Regions from separate parts of the Homo sapiens genome. Here region 1 is linked to region 2. Evidence: promoter capture Hi-C in 16 types of primary human blood cells and fetal thymus (Javierre and others, 2016). All regions are on one chromosome and are shown on one strand. Each heading gives the region's core, a stretch centred on a gene start or on the middle of the fragment in contact. The rest is flanking DNA. Distances are from core to core; before and after follow the strand shown.

Region 1 (5,488 bases), core at 641-3,140, about 21 Mb after region 2:
CCGTGGCACACGCCTGTAATCCCAGCACTCTGGGAGGCCAAGGCAAGTGGATGGCTTGAGTCCAGGAGTTTTGATACCAGCCTGGGGAATATAGTGAAACCCCGTCTGTCCTAAAAATACAAAAAATTAGCTGGGCATGGTTGCGTGTGCCTCTAATCCCAGCTACCTGGGAGGCTGAGGTGGGGAGAATCACCTGAGCCCAGAAAGTCAAGGCTGCAGTGAGCTAAGATTGCGCGACTGCACTCTAGCCTGAGCAACCAAAGTGAGACCCTGTCTCAAAAGGAAAGCATAACTGCAAAAAAAAAAAAAAAAAGTCTCCTATAGTTCTGTGACTCACTGATGATTCCTGATAACATTTTATTTTAAACTCTTCCAAAACCTTTCTTTTATATCTTTTTAAAAACTAAATTGAAATTTTTATTACACATATGTAAGGTTTTTGTTTTTGTTTTGTAAAACTGTCATTATATGTTTGTTGTAGTTCAAGCCTCCAAACCCATAAAAACTCCTGCCTCAGAAGCTGTGTCCCACTGGTAGGAGGGGCTGTAATCGGGAGAGAAGTGTTGTGTACCAGGCTTATTGTCAGGGAATGCTACAGCCTTGATAGTACATAAATTTGTTTACTTTTATATCCTAATAAATAATTTGGGCCGTCTATAAATCCTCGTGTTTTTAGTGTGCTGTTGCCTAAATTTAGGATATGGATTATTATTTTTAAAAAATTCACTAGAAATGGCAAAATATTACTTTGGTAAAAATATTTCATGTCCTTTTTATCTGGAAAACCACTATTGTTTCCCCAAAACAAATTCATATAAAACTAAATTTTACTTTGTGTTATGTGAAGTATACTTCTGTATGTTTGGCTTGGGACCTGGTAGTTTTTAACATTTCCTGAGATGATTATGTTTTTAATTGATTATTCTTCTTTGTGGTGGCGTAAATTAGGAATAATGCAAGATATCTTTGGAAAAGAATACCACCTGCTATAAAATCTGTAAGTATCCTTTAAACCTATTTTACTGCTTTAATGTAATGACATTCCCTTAAATGGCAACCTTTTATAAGCTTATGTTTTCTATCTGACGTCCTAGTAATAGTCATCAGATTGGTATTAAGGATTCGAAATAAATCTTCAGAGTCCTCTAATCAGAAATTTGAATTTTGCTGGGATGGTGTAGAATTTCTGCTCAGTTCCTACTGATTAGATTTCTTGAGACGCTTTTATGTGCAGCTTCCCTAGTTAAACAGCTGAGCCAGTTTAGATGAAGGAAGCTCCTGGAGGTGGCGGAGGCAGCTGAGGTGATTTTCAGCTGGTTTATGTTGCTTCCTATAATGGTACTTATTTTGAAACTGCCATCGTTTACAAGAATACTCTAAGAATGATTGACAGCAATAAGATTATTTTTGTTAATTAGGATTTTAAATTTCTTATTTTGGTTGGGAGATTAGAAGAAATAGCCTGTGAAAAGGTTCTTCCAAAGTGGAATGAAGTAAAATTTTAATGTCAAATGATTCCATGTGTCTAACATGAGTGTCAAGTGAAATTTTTAACATTCTCGGGATATTACCAAGAATTCATCTAAACTTTTGTTTATTGATATTCATCAAGAGATCGGATTAGTATTTTTACTCTTTTTTTTTCCCTCATACATTCTGTTCTGTTAAGTAAGATTGGAATATTCCTCAGCTTCTTTGGCTAAATAAAGAAGTACTATAAATCATGCACATAAGTTTCAATGGCGTTAGTGGAAACTCAATCCTTAGAGAGGCTACAATGTATGACATCTTAGATTGAGAGTCTCTATTGTTAACCATTTTGCTATTACTTTTGACCTAAATATATATTCATAATATATCTATGAAATACAAATACAACATCTTTAAAAACAATCCTTAAGCTAATTAGTCCCCAGGCTTAATTCTGAAATGTTTTTTGACTACTTTCTCATGCCTTAATTTGCTATTGTAATAAATTTATATCAGCCCTACAGATAAATTTTACCTTACTGCTCATAGTGTTTAAAAACCTTTTGATAGTGATTGGGCTGAAAAAGTAATTGCATCTTTTAAAATAAATGTTGAATTAGGTTTTAATGATGTAGCTAACAAGTTTTTATATCATTTCTGGTATTTTGTTTTAAGATACAATCATTGGTGCATTTACAGAGTGAATACCCTCTAAGGCAATAATATTTATTGCAGGCAAATTCTGAACTTGGGGGAATTTGGTCAGTAGGACAAAGAATCTGGCAGAGAGATTTCCCTGGGATCTATACAACCATCAACGCTCACCAGTGGTCTGAGACGGTCCAGCCAATTATGGAAGCACTTAGAGGTAGTGTTTCTTTGTGGTTAAAAATGAAATTAGATGAGACTTAGTCCCTAAGTGCTGCAGTGTTGAAGTAATAAATCAGTGGTGTGTGTTTAAGTAGATATTTTTGATAGGTGAAAAGAGCAGTTTTCAGAATTTTTTAGATTTGCCCTAATCATGCTTCTTCATTTTTTGTTGCTTGAGATTACATTGGCTGCTGTGCTTTTGTTGTTTCTTAATTCTAGACAGAAATTGCTCGTCAGTTTTAAGAGTTTTTTTTGCTATTAAAACGAGATCTTGTAATATTCTAATAAGTTTAAGGTATGGGTTTGTAGAGATGTGAAAATAGAGACTGCTCTTTGAATTTTGTCAGCCTCAGCCTTTGATAGGTGTTGTCTTAAGCTTCTGGATTTTATAATTTATCAGTTTAATACATAGATGCTCAAATGTGTTTTTAATTGCTTTGAAAGATTACAAGCCTGGTGTGACAGAGCACTGATCCCACAATAAAATCTCATTCCCTGCCTCTCTACAGTCTCTCACCCCTAGCATTTGCTTCCAGTCCTCCTGGTTCACTCTTTATAAAATTATATAATCTTGTTTTATGTTGTCATGTACTGTTATTTCTTATTGTTACCCTTACTTCCATAGTTAATATCCACCTTCACTGTATGCCTTCCTGCTGTGGAGGAAGTCAGTGAGCAGGAATTTTTTTAATAACTGTTCATCACTCTGCTAAGGGATATCAGCTTTACAGGGCAGCAGACAGCAGAGATTGTTTCTGAAATGCACATAATTCCCTTGGAATGGTAAAATTCTTAGCAGCATAAAACATAACAATGTAAGTGACAGAACAGGAGGCAGCTACTTTAAATGTGAATGAAATGAGCAGAGTCCTAAGGCAGGCAGATAGATGGGAAGGGAGGAGTGTGGAAGAAGATTGCACAGGTACAGCAGGGGCAGTTTCAGAAAGTAGCACCAGAAACCTCTTCATATAAGCCCTGAGGAATTAGCGTTATAGTGGACTTCCATAGTATCCTCGTGATTCAGCCTTGTGATTGTGGTGGGGCGGTCACAGGCCATGTGCCTTTTCCCAGTGTTTTACAGCGGGTTGATTGGCAGGACTGGGCTTGGGAACTCCTTACTCGTTCAGCAAGCATTCTCTTGTGCACCGTCGGGTCCGTAGTTTTATTCCTTCCCGGAGCCGCCTCTCACTGAATTCCATGAGATTGAGAATTCCTGGCAAGCAGTTCAGTAGACCCAGGAAAGGCTATATAGCGTACCATGCGGGAGTTTAAGCTCTGGGTCCTTGCTTCCGGAGTTCAAATTCTGATTCTGTCACTTACTAGGGTGACTCCTCAGTGTCTTATTTTCCTCATTTGTGAAATGTGATTAGAAATAGTACTTTTTCAGGTTGTAAATGAGTTAATATATAAACATGTACCTTATTCTAAAGCACTACAGTATTCCTGAACATATCCTGAGACTTTTACAAATCTCCAGATTCATGAATGGTACTGTGGTTTCCTTTGTAAAATGCAGCCAGGTCAGGATAGTCTCTTAACAGATTGGTCTTACTGATGAATTTAACATTTTGCTTCTTAACTTATTAGAAACTTATTTTCTAGTTGAGAACAATCACTTTCTTAGATCTCTTTCCATTCTCTTCTAAATTAGGCACAGTCCTATTAGAAAACTGAAAATGACTTAAGAGAAGCTAGTGAAAACTATTTTTGCAGGAAACAAGGGCTGAGGAAGTACTTAGAAACTAGGTAGACAGTAGCCATTCTCATCTGAGGCTTGAAAGGGCAAGGCGAGGGGCCAGTGTTACTGGGGCTGCCCCACAGGATGGATACAGAAGGTCAGCTGGAGCAAGGCAGGGAAAGGGCATAGGAAGTGAATTCCCTGACCTTCCTTCCCAGCCTCTGACCTGATAGAGCCCCAATTCGCCAAAGCAAGAGAGCTCAGGTGCAACAGGCATTGGCGGCCAACCTCCCTGGCACACAGCATGGCTGGGAAAGACAGAAGAGGATTCGAAAGGATGGGAGTGACTAGTTCATCTTCCCTTCTGTCTCCAGCACTGGCAGTGATGGATGAGCAGCACTTGAGTATTTGTTGAACAACTGAGTTTGCATTCTGTTAGCATTTGTTTTCACCAAAAATGTGTTCCATCAACTACTGCCACAGATATTAGGTGCTGGCTCAATTTATTCCACCTTCCAGCGTGTCATTCTAGGGCCTGAGGTTACAGATTTCACAACTTGAGGATCACAGAGTGACTAGTCGGAATGTAGATGTGATTCGTGCCAAGTGGATATTGCAGCTTCTGAGACAGAGAACACTTAGCCTTTATTTTTGCTTTGTCAACTCACTTCTCCCATCACATGTTTTTCTTTCCTTTTCCAGTGATATCTTTTTACTTTTCTCTCCCTTTTATCTCCTCCATTCTTACTGTATTCCTGTTTTATTCCCCACTCTGAAAATATGGCCAGAATATTTGAACTGAAGTAAATGTTTTTGAAATACAGTTGACTTACCAAATGAATATAGTTTTATGGTGTATACTTTTACTTCTCTAAAAAAAAAAAGTATACTTTCCATTGTTGGCTCTTTTCCATTGTTGGCTCAGTTCTTTTCCATTGAATGTATGCAGCCTTAATAGAAAACGTTTCTTGGTATTGCAAAGTCTGTTAGGTTACAGGCTGGTTGAAGGAAGGAAGGAACCTACAATAATAAGTGTAAAGCCACAGAAGGAAGAGCAGACAGTGGCTGAGTGAAAGCTGGAGAGGATGTCGGGCTCAGATGAGGGGAAGGGATGGGAGTGTCGGCAGTTTTTAAGGAATCTGAGAAAACAAAGCCTAAGTGTTGGAGTCGTGCCCCATTTTGGTCCTCGTGATGCCATCAACAAGCATGTATTTGGCATATATTTCACTGGAGATGCTAGGTGTTTGGGGGACTTTGAGGATAAGAGATACCCCTTCCTGTCGAGAAGTTTGGAATATAATTGAAAAGAAGGGGATAGGTGGAACAGTGTCTGCCGTAGTGGAAAGTTGCTTGTTAAAGTAGAAGTGTAAACAATACTGCTGAGTTTAGAGAAGGGCAGAGATCGTAATGAATTATAAACAGACTTAGGAATGGTAGAGAGCAGACAGGAGGGCATTTCAGGCCACGGGA
Region 2 (6,111 bases), core at 2,111-4,610:
CTCCAGCCTGGGCGACAGAGCAAGACTCGGTCTCAAAAAAAGAAAAAATAAATTCTTCTGCAAAAGAGAGTTGCCTCTTGTCTTTCATTTATTTAGTCTATCATTTATTTATATCCACATGGACCCATGGATATTTATTTTACACTTGGGTTAAATCAATACTACCTTATTTATTGCTCAAAATTTTCTAGCTTTGGCCATTCGGAGTTCTTTCAGTTGACTCCTGTGTCTCTCTGACATATCCCCATCAGTGTAGGGTTTTCTGAACATTTCCTTACTTTCTGGCACAAGATACTGCAGGCTCGCCTTGTATATTTCCTGCTGCAGTCCTAGAATGAGTCACTTCTCTAAGGGGCCCTGGTTCCTTTTATTAAAGAATGATATTATAAACCAAGATCTGGGGTCTGGGCATGGTGGCTCATGCCTGAAATGCCAGCACTCTGGAAGACTGAGGCTGGAGGATTGCTTGAACCCAGGAGTTCCAGACCAGCCTGGGCAACATGGCAAGACTGTCTCTACAAAAATAAAAAAATTATTTGGGCACTACTCAGGAGACTGTGGTGAAAGGACTGCTTGAGCCTGGGGAGGTCAAGGCTATAGTGAGCTGTGATCACACCACTGCACACCAGCCTGGGGAACAGAGCAAGACCCTGTCTCAAAACAAAACAAAACAAATAAAAACAAACCCTGAGATCTGGGGCAGTAGGTATACTCGTCGTTACTGGAGATGTTTGGGGTTTTTTTTTTAATGGTAGTTTTTTTAGATTATAAAAGAAACACATGCTCATTATAAAAGATAATTAGAAAATGCAAAAAATGTATGCAAAAATCAATTTGACTATTCCCACTATCCACTACTTTTTGCTTTTTCTCCTCCTTGAATTTACACAGCCAGAGCTGGAATAACAGATTGGGGAGGATAAAGAGACAACTACCTTTATTCCACAAAATTGTGCAAGATGTGCTGACATAAAGCACATGGTGGGTCACTGCCCCAGTGGCACTCAAAGTCTGGAAGCTCTTCCTGGAATCATAGGAGGGAAGAACTGGACAGGACCTTGAAGACCACCTGGTCCAGCTCCTTGTAAATAAAGATGGTGGCTGCTGGGAGGTGGGGAGGTGGTTCTCCATGTGGGGACTGTGGCTTACCTAAAGTCAAACCACAAGGTAGTTACAGATCCTGGCCCAGACTGAGTGCCAGGGACCTGATTTTAATTCAACTATGTTTTCTGATGTGCTTTTTCAGTGCACTAAATATTATGATTTGGCGTAGTACAAGCTAGCAATTAGGAGAACTAACTTTGGGATCAGACAGACCAGATTTGAGTTCTAATTGCTGTGTGACATTGAGCAAGTTTCTTAACTTCCCTGAGATGAGTTTCTTTTTTCTTTCTTTTTTTGTTTTTGTTTTGAGAAAGGATCTCACTCTGTTGTCCAGGTTGGAGTGAAATGGTGTGATCATAGCTCACTGTAACCTCTGAACTCCTGGGCTCAAGCAATCCTCACGTTTCAGCCTTTTGAGCAGCTAGAACCACAGATGTGTGTCACCATACCTGGCCTATTATTTTTTTGTGTGTGTGGAGATGGGGTCTCGCTATATTGTCCAGGCTGCCTAGAACTCCTGGTCTCAAAGAATCTTTTCCAAGAGAGACTCTGTCTCAAAAAAAAAAAAAAAAAAAAAAAAAAAAGAAAAAGAAAAAAGAAAGAAAAGTATATAATAACTTGTCAGAGGTCCCACAGCTGGTAAATAGCAGAGTTCTGTTTTGAACCCATACTGAATCCAGAGCCTCTAAGTTCCTAATCATTACATGAGACTTCCTCTCTTTTTCTTAGTAATGAAGATAATAATCATTCCTATCATAAAGGATAATGGAAAATTAAATGAGAACATCCACATAAAATACTCAGTGCCTACCATGTGTTACCCTCCAACAATTGTAACCATATGAAGTACATAGCTGTTTGCAAGTTGCTTTGATTTGATTTGATTCATATATATTTTTTGAGACAGAGTCTCACTCTGTTGTCCAGGCTGGACTGCAGTGGCGTGATGACAGCTTACTGCAGCCTCAACCTCCCAGGCTCAAATGATCTTCCCACCTCAGCCCAGGTATGCAAGTTGACTTTAATACAATTGTGAGGAAAAGTGAACAGGTGCAAAATTATTTGAGACAGTTAATATTAAGCTTTGGGAACGGAAGCTACTTGTTACCGGACTTCTGATTGGAATCAGGGCCACACAATGCCTTTCAGCTCCCATGGTCTTTCTTGGCCCTCTAATCATGGATTCTCTCTTACACTCTTATTCCAGTAGTTTTCTGAGCTTCTTATTCTCTGGATTAGCCATCCCCTGAAAAAAGGCAACCAAACTTCCTAGTGTGTGTGTTCTACGTGAAGAAAGAAGATCATGTGTCTAGTTCCAGAACACACCCTCCCCACCCCCGGCCTCAACCAGAAATCCAATTCTTCCCTGCTGACCCCTTTGAGAGACCTGGAGGGACAGAGAATTGACGGTGGGTAAAGGGTAAGATGTTGGAGTTTAAGGGTTCAGGCCTGGACCAGGAAGCTGTCTTAACAGCCTAGTGTGGGGCCATGGAAGTGAGTTCTGAAATGAAGTGGAAGGCAGGCCATCCGCACTGAGATGCAGCAGCTGGAACACAAAACTCCAAGGTGACTGTTAACTTTTCCCCAGCCTTCCAATCTCAGACTTTCCTCAGGAAACACCAGGCTCTTCTGAATTAGTCGCGAGCAGAACCATCGTCCTTTCCTTCAGAACTCTGACCAGTTTGAAACTGTCTAACTTCTTAATGTGGCTATATGATCGTTTGCAGCTGGCCTGCAACTTGTTCTGGGAATGGAACCTTGGATTTTAGTCACCACTGTCGCTAGCATCCTGCACAGTCAGCCACTTTTAGAGAGCATAATGCAGAGGGGGAAATAAATGAGATTTGGAATAGAGACGGGGTTTCACCCTGCTGGCCAGGCTGGTCTCGAACTCCTGACCCACCCCGCCTCCCAAAGTGTTAGAATCACAAGCGTGAGCCACCGCGCCCGGCCCCACAAATGTAAGATTTATGCACTTCTCCAAGCCAAGTGCTGTGCATCGAATGGAGGAACTCGTACCTTTGCAGGATTTTGTGATATATGTGAAATAATCCGGACATGCTTCTGCTATGGTTGTTTGTCGCCATAGTTTGCGAATCTGGGTAAACCTGGATGAGAGAGACGCCTTACAATTGCAAACATTTCTCAGGAGGCCGCCTGAAAACGCCCAAACCATAGAGCTCAGTTCCTAGCTAGGCCTCTACCAGCCACTTCCGCTCGTCCGCCTAATACCGCGCCTGCGCACCGCGTCTCTTCCTTTCTGGGCTCGGACCTAGGTCGCGGCGACATGGTGAGTGTGGGTCTCTGTGCGGCCTAGAACTCTATCTGCCTGCATCTGTCCTTGTTTTCTTCTCCCGCACCCATCTCCTCTCCTGCCTTACCCCGTGTTCTCTCCTGTCTCCATGCCTTTGCAGGAGACACCATTGTCGGAAGCTCCCCAAGGCGGAGGGGCGGGGGCGCCTTGGCTGGGCCTGGCGCGCTCCAGCCGGGTTAACGCCGGGCCTTCGGAGCGCGCGGCCAGCCCTGGGCACTGGTTTCGTTGGGTTGAATTTAGGGAAAACTAGGTCATATGTAATTCACATGTCGGTCACACGTCAGTGAGGTGGAGGAACGGTGTGTGGAGGCTCCAGGGCCTGCCTGGGTTCCAGGTCTATCACTGGTTTCTCCCTTCACTCTAAACAGGCCAAACGTACCAAGAAAGTCGGGATCGTCGGTAAATACGGGACCCGCTATGGGGCCTCCCTCCGGAAAATGGTGAAGAAAATTGAAATCAGCCAGCACGCCAAGTACACTTGCTCTTTCTGTGGCAAAGTAAGTAAGGCAAAGTCTCTGGTGAGAGGAGAGGGAGGGCAGGTTTCTTACCCAAGTGAGGCCTGACTTCAAGGTATTTTATAAGCCGTGTGCTGGTGGGCAGTTGGAATTACTCATACCGTTGATTATGAGTTTTAAGATAAAAGTGTTGATGGTAACTTCAGATTTTGTGAGACGTTTTTCATTTAAAGAAAACCGCTTAAACGTTAATGGGTAAAATAATCATTTGACAGAGTGCCCCCAGCCTAAGCCAAACCTGCTTTGTGGGAAATGATTCCATCAGTTTTGTCTACTGATGTTTCTGCACCAACTCCCAAGATGTCTGTGCATCTAATACCATTCTACTTGTTCTGCGAGGGATTTTTGTTTGATAAAGGTTTGAACGTTTATGTGCAAAATACTGCATTACAGCAATCCCTGTTTTGTTTTTGAGGGAGAAAGGGAGGCTTTCACATCCCTGACAATAAGGTGAATCCAAATTTAGACTTCTGGATGCTTGTAAGAGAAAATACTTACTTGGTTCATAGTGAAAATTGGTTCTCTTTTATAGACCAAGATGAAGAGACGAGCTGTGGGGATCTGGCACTGTGGTTCCTGCATGAAGACAGTGGCTGGCGGTGCCTGGACGTACAAGTGAGTCTAGTTCCTTGTGGTATTTGGAAGTGTGTGGACCACATAGGCCCAAATTCCAGGTTGCTGCTGGATGGGCTAGTTTTAACACTTTCTCAGGACTGAGAGAATAAGGATGCCTTTGTATTTTCAGGATTCTTCCGTGGTGGTTTATTTTCAGTTATTGAAAGAGTAAACACAAAACTACCAAAATAGAAGTCGGAAATCTAATTCACAGACTACTTTAGAATTTGATGGTCACTGGGCACATTGTTGTGAACATTGTCATGATACTGTGCAGGTCCATTAGTGGGGCTGAATCTACTGAACGTTGATTTGCACTGCAAGTTTTGATAAAAATAGGTGAAGGGGTCAGTTAGTTCAAAACTGTATTTGGAACTTGAGGCCATCAGGACCACCACAGTTTCGTCTTTCTGAACAGTATTAGACTGCTGCAGGTTTGTGAATCTGCAACTCAGTATCACCTGACAGGGCGATACTACAAACACTATACTACAAACTAGCATCTAGACCTGTGTTGTCCAATACACTAAGCACATATATGGCTAGTGTAATTAAAGAATTGGATTTTAAAGTTTCAGTCAATTTAAACTTAAACCGAAGCAGTGGAAAATGTTGAAATATATATATATTCCTTGTGGGGGTTTTTATTAGGGCAGAATGGAAAATGGGAACTAGAGTGCTTTCTTGGTTCTGATAGGAAAGTGAATTATTTATATACTTACAATACAGGATGGTGATTTTCAGGTATAGTTCCTGAATTTTATGGTAAAACTTTTGTAGTCATTTCAATAGCTGTCTTTCCCAAAGGCACTTTAGTGTCCGCTCTTATTTCCTTAATCATTGTTCTCACTGTATCATCTTGTAATTTATTCATTTCTTGTAATCTGTCCATTCCCTTTTAATAAGTTTAGGTCAGCCTCTTAGAACCATTTCTTTTTCATGGGATGGGGTAGGGGGAGTTAAAGCTTGCTTGTCCACAACTGAGTTACTTATAAAAAAAAAAGCAACTCTGGTTGAGAAATCAGATGCATGAGATTGTATGTCTAATTCTGCAAGATCCTGAAGGCATGGCTCTTAAAGGATGCCATCATGTAGTTTAGAAGCCACTAATTTCCGAGGAGTAATCTAATGTTGGTTAGATCTTTGGATTGACTGCAGCAAAGTATTGGTAGAGCAGTCTATCTCAGTATAATTCTTTCTAGGAAAATTTGGGAAGCGACTTTAACACAAAAACGAGGCAGATTTACTTATTTGCCATTTTCTATGTTAACATGCTTAATTATGTTGGAAACTGAATCTTTCTTTCCAGTACCACTTCCGCTGTCACGGTAAAGTCCGCCATCAGAAGACTGAAGGAGTTGAAAGACCAGTAGACGCTCCTCTACTCTTTGAGACATCACTGGCCTATAATAAATGGGTTAATTTATGTAACAAAATTGCCTTGGCTTGTTAACTTTATTAGACATTCTGATGTTTGCATTGTGTAAATACTGTTGTATTGGAAAAGCATGCCAAGATGGATTATTGTAATTCAGTGTCTTTTTTAGTAGTCAAATGGTAAAA

Evidence for each region. The method cuts DNA at HindIII sites, captures the fragments that hold promoters and counts their contacts. A CHiCAGO score of 5 or more calls a contact.
Region 1: a fragment that was not itself captured here is called in contact with the fragment with the promoter of RPL37A in region 2 in 1 of 17 cell types (total B cells); the score reaches 6.4 in total B cells.

Annotation. Positions count from the first base shown.
Region 1 is chr2:237,087,657-237,093,144 of GRCh38, forward strand. It overlaps COPS8 (COP9 signalosome subunit 8), which reads left to right. Exons shown (of 8, transcript NM_006710.5): 3 at 949-997; 4 at 2,206-2,338. Among named protein-coding and RNA genes, the nearest start is that of COPS8, 4.5 kb to the left of the region's middle. The HindIII fragment of the contact is 1,648 bases long and covers 1,067-2,714 here.
Region 2 is chr2:216,495,484-216,501,594 of GRCh38, forward strand. RPL37A (ribosomal protein L37a) reads left to right here and starts at 3,361. Exons shown (of 4, transcript NM_000998.5): 1 at 3,361-3,394; 2 at 3,787-3,915; 3 at 4,466-4,548; 4 at 5,858-6,111. The coding sequence starts at 3,392. The coding sequence ends at 5,921. RPL37A-DT (RPL37A divergent transcript) reads right to left here and starts at 3,269. Exons shown (of 4, transcript NR_183317.1): 1 at 3,124-3,269. RefSeq lists a silencer at 606-675 and enhancers at 2,778-2,867, 3,048-3,437. The HindIII fragment of the contact is 3,327 bases long and covers 2,185-5,511 here.